Regions from separate parts of the Homo sapiens genome. Here regions 2 and 3 are each linked to region 1. The links are contacts of gene promoters, found by promoter capture Hi-C in blood cells and fetal thymus (Javierre and others, 2016). All regions are on one chromosome and are shown on one strand. The core of a region is centred on a gene start or on the middle of the fragment in contact, and the rest is flanking DNA. Distances in the headings are between cores, read along the strand shown.

Evidence for each region. The method cuts DNA at HindIII sites, captures the fragments that hold promoters and counts their contacts. A CHiCAGO score of 5 or more calls a contact.
Region 2: a contact is called between a fragment that was not itself captured here and the fragment with the promoter of OR8D4 in region 1, in 1 of 17 cell types (neutrophils). The highest score is 5.3, in neutrophils.
Region 3: a contact is called between a fragment that was not itself captured here and the fragment with the promoter of OR8D4 in region 1, in 1 of 17 cell types (neutrophils). The highest score is 5.7, in neutrophils.

What each region holds. Positions count from the first base shown.
Region 1 is chr11:123,900,468-123,903,888 of GRCh38, reverse strand. It overlaps OR8D4 (olfactory receptor family 8 subfamily D member 4), which reads right to left and starts at 1,722. Exons shown (of 2, transcript NM_001005197.2): 1 at 1,632-1,722. The HindIII fragment of the contact is 7,569 bases long and covers 1-3,051 here.
Region 2 is chr11:123,840,573-123,843,993 of GRCh38, reverse strand. It overlaps the pseudogene OR6M2P. Among named protein-coding and RNA genes, the nearest start is that of OR6M1, 36 kb to the right of the region's middle. RefSeq lists an enhancer at 2,066-3,265. The HindIII fragment of the contact is 2,708 bases long and covers 347-3,054 here.
Region 3 is chr11:123,949,133-123,952,553 of GRCh38, reverse strand. No RefSeq gene overlaps it. Among named protein-coding and RNA genes, the nearest start is that of OR6T1, 7.0 kb to the right of the region's middle. The HindIII fragment of the contact is 584 bases long and covers 1,214-1,797 here.

The sequences.
Region 1 (3,421 bases), core at 473-2,972:
GGAAAGCCTTCTCAGATGAAGAATAGAAAGTGTACAATTTTACATTTCAGTATTTTGCCACCTATTTGAAAACTCACAGATTCCATGGCAGTGTAATGTGCATGTCAAATAGATTATTGCAACAAATTGTATTCTGTTTTTGCATTTGTAGGAAGAAAAATTATACACATTCCATCTTAGTCCACACAAAAGTAAGCAATGATAACCAGCATCTACTTTATTTAACCAACCGATAAACAGTAAACTTGACTAGCCTAGGGATACAAATTTATGAGGTTGTATTTCTGACCAAAATAATCTACTACATTGATTCAGACCTCATTCAGGACTCAGGTGGTTTTTAGCAATTTAAAATCATAAGAAAAGTGTTTTTAAACATTTCAATGCATCTCACAGTATTATTAAAACTATGACTATTGAAAGTATTTTGCAAAGGTAAATGCTAGATCAGCATTGCCCAATAGACATATAATGCAGACACACGGGCAATTTAAAACATCCTAGAAGTTCATTTTGTAAAAAGTCAGAATAAAAAGATAAAATACATTTTACTAGTATGTTTTGTTTAACTCAGTTCAGTCCTTGATATCCATAGGAGACTGGTTCCTGGACCCCTTCAGATACCAAAATCCCTGAATGCTCAAGTCCCTGATTTAAAATGGTGTCGTATTTTTATGTAACCTAACTAAGCACATCCTTTTGTATACTTTAAATCATCTCTAGATTACTTATAATACCTAATATAATGTAAATGCTAAGTAAATATTTCTTTTAGTATATTGTTCAGGGAATAACAAGAAAAATGTCTGTACATATTCAGTACAGATATAACCACCCATTAAAAAAAAATCTTCCATCTGCCATTGGTTGAATCCACAGATGTGGAACCCACAGACACACAGGCCAACTGTACATGCAAAATGATGTACATGTACATCATTTCAACATATAATTCATATTTTAAAAATAATGAGATATTTTACATTATTTTATTATACAAATCTTTGAAATCCATAGTGTATTTTATACCCGGCCAGATTTCAAATGCTCAGTAGCCACCTATGGCTAGTGGCTATATTACTGGACAACAGAAGTCTAGAATGTGATCTTTTTCCCTAAATCTTTCAAATCTGAATTGTCCCCTTTTAAAGAAAGAAACCATTAGTACAGAGGTAACAGAAAGACCATGAACCCTGAGTTATAAGATGCAGTATCATTTTCATTTCTAAGATTTACAGTGCAACCTTTGACTCATAAAGTCTCTCTGAACTTCATATTTTAATCTGTAAAAAATAATAAATACTTCAAAAGATTGTTATGCAAATCAAATGAGACAATAACTGTGAATGTATTTTACATATTATAAGGTTCACATAAATATATTTGTAAATATATTTTTAAAGCAGGTGATTTCACAGATTAATTCATATATTAGACACAAGATACTTAGGTAAGGTGACTGGACAATGCATAAATGAGTCTGAGATGGATGCCTATGGCCTCTTCCCTAAACTTCTGTGACTCAGTGGCCTCAAACATGCAGCTCGAGAACCCATGGGGACAATCGGGAATTGATTTCAGAACACATTTTAATATACTTATAATATGAACATCATAATTCTGAAGCTCACCTTTTTCCTCCTGAAGACTGTAGGTGAGTATCTCTTCTTTCTCCTAACCTCATCACTTCAGGAGTAGAGATGGATTGATTTTACCTTCTTCTTTAAGTGTCTGAGTGACAACAGCTAACAAGAAGCTATGACTTTTATTCTCAGTTCAGGTATTTTGTGTCAAGAAATATAAAGACCAGTAGTCCCAAGGGTTTCTTGTCTCCTGAGGTACAGCAGCCTATGTATTTGTAAGAACTATCCATGAACTGGCCTATCATTTTGGGAATCTAACATGGATTAGTCACACTAATGCCCCTTGCCATTCAGTCGGGGAAGATACATGGTCTAACACATGGCTTGCATTTTAAAATGTTGAACAAATGAGGCATCATAGACAGTGCTTGGTATAATAAGCAGTAGGTAGACTTTGAGGTCAGAGATGGAACAGGTCATTACTGTCTAGAGCGATAAGGACGATCTTCATGGAAAGGTAGATTGTAAAATATGCCTTCAAAGGTGGGGAGGATCCATTTAAGCTGAGAGGATATGAAAGAATATTCAAGACGTAGATAAAGGCATAAGCAAAGGAACTGAGAAGTAGAAAACCTAAGGAATATGTGAAGAACACTGGGAATAGCTGAAGTGTTTCTTGGATGAAAGCAGTAGATTCAGTGTTTCTAGTGTCTGCTAATGATGGAAGAAGAGTCAGAGGAATGAGTCTGAGTCCAGCCCTCCAGTCTGTTCTAATGGCTTTCCAGGACATCTGGAAGAATGTGCCTGGTGATCCTTGGGTGAGCCTTTTGTGGCTCTGTTAAAATAACACATGCACTTAAAGCCTCCACATTTTCAGGGGCAAACAGCTATATTCAGATCTGCCTTTGGGGAAAACTGTGACACCACTTCAGATTATCTCATAATCAATAGTGTCTACCATGTCAAAGACACTAAATTTCTGGAGATGGAGCCAGGATAAATAAAGCATGGTCCTTCCCCCATTCATATTGGATGGTTATTAAAACATGTTTTAATGTCAATTTATTTCCTTGGGAAAAGTGCTTTGGTACCATTCCTATTCCCTTAACTATTCTCCCAGTGTACTGACCTCTGCTTTAACATTGTCCCCCCATACATGTATTTGTGCCTGTCTTCCCTGCTCTTTGGGAATTGCCCCCCCGCCGTTGAGACAAGGGACAATTTCTCATTCATTAGGGCCTATCGCAATGACCGGCTTAGAGTAGAATTTACTTTTTTCAGCATCATCCTCATTCCTACCCAGCATCTAGTTCAATCAGAACACTTTGTTCTCTCCTGTCTAGAAGATCGTGATCTGAAATGCTGATTAAAATAGGCCAACTTACAGGAGAGGATTTTCACTTACTAGATAAATAACAAAATGAGATCAATTCTTAACCAGGGGAAATCAGTCATGAATGAGGAAGCTTATGGTATTAGAAGAGCAGATATGTAACACACAATATTCTTGCTTATTCTTAAAATCAAATATTATAAATAACCATCAATCCTACTTATACTTGTCCAAGCAAGCTTATTGCATAGAGGCCTACTGGAGTCAAATGCTTAAAACACAAAACTTCAGCTATAGTCTAGATACCCATTACCAGCCTGTGAATTATACATATTATGAATAATGTTTAGTGAAGTAAATCCCTGTTATGATCATGTGTGTAAGCGAGAGTGTGTGTGTGTATGTATTGCTGCCTCACTATGCAAATAGTTTATTTTGAAACTAAAAAATATTAGTGATTTGCTACACAAATATAATATGGAGCATATCTGATTGCAAAAAAACA
Region 2 (3,421 bases), core at 451-2,950, 60 kb after region 1:
TGAAAATTACTCTTAAATAGACAAAAACCACTATGCATTTGTAAAGTGTACTTACCAACAGCTTAGAAATGTGAAAAAATTATAAGAAACCAGAATGTTCTTATATGGAACAGAGAAGATGAAGATAATTATTAAAATAACAAGGATACCTTGATTCATGAAAAAATGAGTAGTGAATAAAAATAAAGAAGCAACTACAAGAACCAGAAAAAGTCACAGCCAGATTTGCAAATGGAAATATGTTTAGAAAAAATGTCTTAGCTCTGAGACTTACCACAATTAAGATCATAGCATTTATTTTACTTATTTATCTAATTTTCTGTCTCTCTTAACTATACTGTAAGCTTCATAAGGGAAGTTTTTTGTTGTTAACATTTTTGCTTTGTTTTTGCTTTATATTTTTTGTTTTCCTCTGATATAGCTCCAGCACCTGAAAATTTGCATGATGCACGGCATATGCTAAAGAAAACTATGTGTTAATTAAAAGAATGAATAAATGAAAAAATAATAATAGTAACAGCTTCTGGCAGGTCACTTTTCCCAGGTAGAGAGTCTGAGGAAATGGCCTCCCTTAAAGAGGAATTCTGTGTGCACCACGTTAAAAAATTTACCTAGTTCAGAGATATAAATTAGTTGTTTTAACTTGAAACTAGAGCACTGGTCACAAAATAATATACCAGAGGACAGTGCTTCAGCTGAATTACATAGACATGAAACAGATCTTCGGTGAAGCAGGGCAGTATTCAGAGATTAAGCTGAGTGTTTCATATACATCTTTTCGATAGATCAAATACATGTTTCGGCATCCACTTTTTTGCAGTATTATTAATAACCTACTCTTCAAATGGCTGGGAAAAAAATGCCGTGTATAAAAGACTTCTTTGGGAAAACCTGTAAGAATCAGTTGGAGAAGGAAAGGGGAAACGTTTGTTGTTCTTTTGGATGCTGCCATGAATGTAACATGGCAACAAACAACAAAATAACAACAAATAATCATTTTTCCATCAGATTTTTTTCAAAATATTTAAAATAGGTTACACAGATTATGAATTATGTATCATGGACCTACTTGTTCCATAACAGTGTAGACATCAAAACATTTCTATTATATAAAGTAAAAACAAAGAAAAACTAAGTAGGGAAAGACTGATTGATTAGAGTAATTTGTGTCCAATTGTCTATTACACTGATATTCAAAACATGGTAACAATAACAAAAATGAGTAGAGGTAAATGTTGACTCCCCTCGATTTAACTGTCTTGGCCAGTTTTAACAGTTTCTGTTCTTTGATTTAGAAGATATCTTCAAAGTTGAAATAACTTTGAGAAAAGTAACAAGTTTTTTTTGTTTTTTGTTTGTTTTGAGACAGTCTCACTCTGTCACCAGGCTGAAGTGCTGTGGTGTGATCTCAGCTCACTGCAATCTCCGCCTCCTGAGTTCAAGCAATTCTCCTGCCTCAGCCTCCCGAGTAGCTGGGACTACAGGCACCCGCCACCGTGCCCAGCTAATTTTTGTATTTCTAGTAGAGACAGGGTTTCACCATGTTGGCCAGGATGGTCTCAATATCTTGACCTCGTGATCCGCCCACCTCGGTCTCCCAAAGTGCTGGGATTACAGGTATGAGCCACCTCACCGGGCCTAACTCAAGTTTTATTAACCTTCTTTTTCTCAATTTTTCAAATAATTGACCAGATTCTCAGTTTAGTATGCCTCTCTTTTTAAGAACAGAATTTAGCTGGGAAAGTAGTAGGTCAGGAAGAGCAAAAAAGAGACAGGAAGGAGCATTGTGTAAAAGAGACTAAAATCATAAAGACTAGAATTATAGGGACCATGAGGATAATTTCATTCAATCAAAACTTTGAAATATGAGAATACTGAAGTTAGAAGAAGTAATGTCATTTACCCAAGGGACCACATTTAATAAAGTCAGAAGCAGACTGTGAACGAATCACTCTTGACTCCTCACACAAAGTTTTTTCTATTTCACTCTTATCACAGATATTGGGAGTTGAAAACTTCCGTAAGTTGAGCATCATCTCTGCATTTTATCTTTTTTTTTTCAGAGATGTGCTTCCCACTAGGCATTGCCTGCAGTGGACATCCAAAATCAGACCACAGTGACTGAGTTTACCCTGACGGCCTTTCCTGTTCTTCAGCAGCTTCAAATTTCCCTTTTTGCAGTCCTCTTGTTTACTTATATGCTTACTCTAACAGGAAACGTTGCCATCATTTCCCTAACATGTGCGAATCATCGCCTCCAAACCCCAATGTACTTCTTCCTCAGTAATTTGTCAATTTTGGACATTTTTTTCACCACCTCAGTTATCCCAAAGCTATTAGCCTGTCTCCTGCAGGACAAGAAGACCATATCTTTTGCTGGGTGCATCACCCAAACTTATTTCCTTTGTTTTCTTGGGGACAGTGGAGTTTATCCTCTTGGCAGTGATGTCCTTTGACTGCTACGTGGCCATCTGTGACCCCCTGCACTACACCATTATCATGAACAGCAGGGCCTGCCTCCTACTAGTTCTGGGCTGCTGGGTTGGAGCCTTCCTGTCTGTGTTGTGCCCAACCATTGTGGTGTCCAGATTGCCTTTCTGTTACAAGGAAATTAGTCACTTCTTCTGTGACATCACCCCTCTGCTACATGTGTCCTGTATAGACACTCATTTCATCGAGATGATAAACTTCCTCTTATCTTCCCTCATCCTCCTGACCTCACTGGTGCTCACCACTGTGTCCTACATCTACATCATTTCTACCATCCTGCACATCCCCTCAGCCCAAGGACGTCGGAAGGCCTTTTCCACGTGCGCTTCCCACATCACCGTCATTTCCATCGCTTATATAAGCAACATCTTCAGGTATGTGAGGCCCAGCCAGAGTCATTCAATGGGTTTTGACAAGGTGACAGCTGTCCCCACAATGGTGACCCCTCTTCTGAATCCCTTCACTTATAGTCTAAGAAATGAAAAGGTAAAGGCAGTCTTGAAAGAAGCAGTCAGCAAAATTATGTCCTCATGGCACAGGAGAACTTAAAACTTTAACCAAGCTTTTCTGCTCAGAATGGTTATTTTCATCTCTAGCTCAGTGTGGAGAAAGACAGATTTAGACACCAGAAAATCAAAGGCATATGGGAAGGTATGAATAGGCTCAGTGCCGCATCAGAGGCAAAGTACTGTAGTCACAGTTTAGAAGAGACAATTCAGCCATAGAGAAAATGACATTCCCTGAACTCTATGATTGAACCACTGTGCATTCACAATATCATGGATTAATGAAAAATACAAAACTAAAATCAAAAAACCTAAATTTTGAGCCTGGCTTTATCACCCTTTTTTTTTTTTTTTTTTATCGAGTGACACTTAGCCTATCTGACCATTTGTTTTCTCATCTGTGAAATGGGGACGTTGTGCTTTTT
Region 3 (3,421 bases), core at 256-2,755, 49 kb before region 1:
ACCCAGGAATCATTGAGGAGCAGGTTGTTCAGTTTCCATGAAGTTGTGTGGTTTTGAGTGAGATTCTTACTCTTGAGTTCTAATTTGATTGTGCTGTGGTCTGAGAGACAGTTCGTTATGATTTCAGGGTTTTTTTTTTTTTTTGCATTTGCTGAGGAGTGATTTTCTTCCAATTGTGTAATCAGTTTTAGAGTAAGTGCCACGTGGTGCCAAGAAGAATGTGTATTATGTTGTTTTGGGGTGGAAAGATCTGTAGATATATATCAGGTCCACTTGATCCAGAGTTGAGTTCAAGGTCTGAAGGTCTTTGTTAATTTTCTGTCTCAATGATCTGTCTAATATTGACAGTATGGCGTTAAAGTCTCCCACTTTTATTGTGTGAGAGTCTAAGTCTCTTTTTAGGTCTCTAAAAACATGTTTTTTGAATATAGGTGCTCCTGTATTGGGTGCATATATATTTAGGATAGTTAGCTCTTCTTATTGAATTGACCCCTATATCAATATGTAATGCTCTTATTCGTCACTTCTAACTTTTTTTAAGTTGCTAATAGTTCTGGGAGTGTTGTGGCAAAATCAATAATACACTATTTTTTAATGTTTATGTTACTCATGTAACAAATAAAGGTATATTTTGATGGCAAAAAGGAAAAGATAAGAAACATTCCACAAGAGCATTTAAACAGCCAATAAGTTATCTTGTTTAGGAGAAGAGATTCAAGAAAAGGATCTGGAATGCTACATACTTTATGTAATTCAACACATATTCTCGATTTGGGTAACATCTTAGAATAATTTAATGCTGCAGTTTAGTTTTTGAGGTAACTCAGTTAATCAGTAGACATTTCAGTTTTTCCTAACCCATTCATATGGATTAACCATATTAAGTAGGCATGTAAAAAATGTTTAAAGAAAATTTTTAAAAATCCACTTTTTAAAAAATAACAATGATACCAAACCCCTCTCAGATTAATATCCTTTTTTTTTTTTTCCTAAGATGAAGTATTGTCACATAGGGGCATTATTTCTCAAGATGAATGTAGATATCATTAGATGTGTTAATGAGCACTCTATTTTGAACTCATTTCTTGTTTCTTGGCTGTTCTATAGGGGAAGCTTTCAGAACAAGTAGGACACCAAAATATCCTCTGGATAAGATGATTATTGTCATAGTTCACAGAAGTCCCTCCTCATTGGCATTTATATTATTTAAGCTTCAGTGAAGGAAACGGAAATGATTTTAGCTATTTTAAGCAAGAAAGAATAGAGAATTAAGTGCTTACAAAATCACCAGGTGTGCTTAGGAAGTGAGTTTTAGACTAGAACTCCAGGATTGACTCCCAGTTCTGTAGCAAGTTGACCCAGCAGGAAAGGTAGAATAAAGGTGGAAATAGTGTGCCCATAGTGCCCAGACCTGTATTTGACACTCTTAAGGCACACTTTATCTAATTCCTGAAAAGGACAGCAAGGCTGGCTCTTCACTGACCCCCTTTCCCCACAGAACATGGATAGTTTTTATTGAACTTACCATTCTATCATATTTAAGAAGACAAGGTTTGGAAATCCTAGAATGACTGAAAACTTTCTTTACACAGATAATTCTCATCAGTGTAACATTGTCCATTATCTATTTTAAGCCATAATATCTTTAGCATATGATGTCCTAAGAGTAGCATAAAATGGCTTCTAGGGAAGGAGAAAAAAACATAATTTAGTGCAAATAAAAATCCCTACTACACATTTTGACATAACTTCACATTTTAAAATTCCAATCAAGGTTAGACAATCATTAATAAAGCTTTTAAATATTCTTTAGATTTTTATTGAATCTCTTTTAATCCAACATTTTTCATTCATTTTACACTTCAGTGCATGCAAAATATTTCAATATAACCACGTCTAGAAAGGTAAACTCATAACAGTTTACAGTATGGTTTTGATGAACTACAAGTTCAACATTTTGGTGGGAAAGGGGTGAAGTACGCAGATAATTTGATAAGTAGATACTTTGAGCTTATTGAATGTATATAAATGAGAAGATAATTTTTATTTGAACTTCTTGATAATGAGCAAGATTCAAATATTTTTTCTCATCTCCGTTGATCACCTGGGTGCAAATTATACACAATTATTTCTCTTAAAGATCCTATGAAACCCATTTTACAGATGAAGAAACTGAAGCTAGGAATTTAAGTAACTTACCCAAGTTCATGCCAAGTATTATATACCATAATTAGTATGTGACTCAATGTTCAATGCTCATTGAAAAAAAAAAAGATTGGATTTTCAAATTAACACTGATCATATATATATATTCAAATATATCCATATATATATGGATATATATACGGATAAATATATATCCATATATATATGGATAAATATATATGGATATATATACGGATAAATATATATCCATATATATATGGATAAATATATATGGATATATTTGTTATAATTTCATTACATCGTCAAGATACCCAAGGCCTCACTGAGTCACTACCTAGCTTAAGAGAATTTCTTAAAGTTCAAATACAGTAACAAGTTTTCTACTACTTCTGTACACAAGAAGTAGCTCTATCTTTTTTTGAAGAAGTACAGTTCATACTCTATGACAAATCTCAAACGTCTCACCCCCTAAAGCCTTGAAGGACTAATTACATTAGTTTACTTTTAGAGAACTTTGGTCAAAGTTATTCCCTTTTGAGATTTCCATTCAAAGCAAGTTAAAGTAAATTTTAATTGATTGGAGGTACAAAGAAATAATCATGCAAATTTATAGTAACTTCTCTTTCAACACTGAGAAGGAGTTTTGCTTGGTATTACTTGAAGCATAAAGAACTGCAGATTCAAGAAGCCTTCTGTGTGCTCCATTGAACATAAACAGGATCCTGATAGAACTTTTGAGTGCACATTCCTCAAACTGGCCAGGGGAAGAAGCCTAAGAAATGCAGTATTGGAACAGGTAAAGGAGATAACTTATATCACCTCCTATGTCAGGCAACTTCATATATCCAAAATTTATTTTTATTCTTGACTTAAAACTGGACTCATTGGAATCAAGGAGTTTTGTTTATAAGTAATTTAAGGCATAAAGATTTAGAGTACTAAAACTATGATACATTTTATTGTACACAGCTATACAATTTCTATTTACTGATGGAAGATAGGAATGACAGCTCTTCATTTATATCCTCAGCTATTGAGTTCTGCACAGATAAACCAACACTTGAGCCCATAAAGTACAGCACTGCATTATGAGAAGCTCTGATTTGCATATTTTGAGTATCCAGAAAATGACCCTAACAACTTTCTTTTTCACTAGGGACTGAGTTAAGAAGCTTCCAGCTTTTGGAAAGTTTATCTTTAAAGTACTCACTGAAGTTTCATGGAAAGATAAGGTTTTACATACAGAGGAGCAATT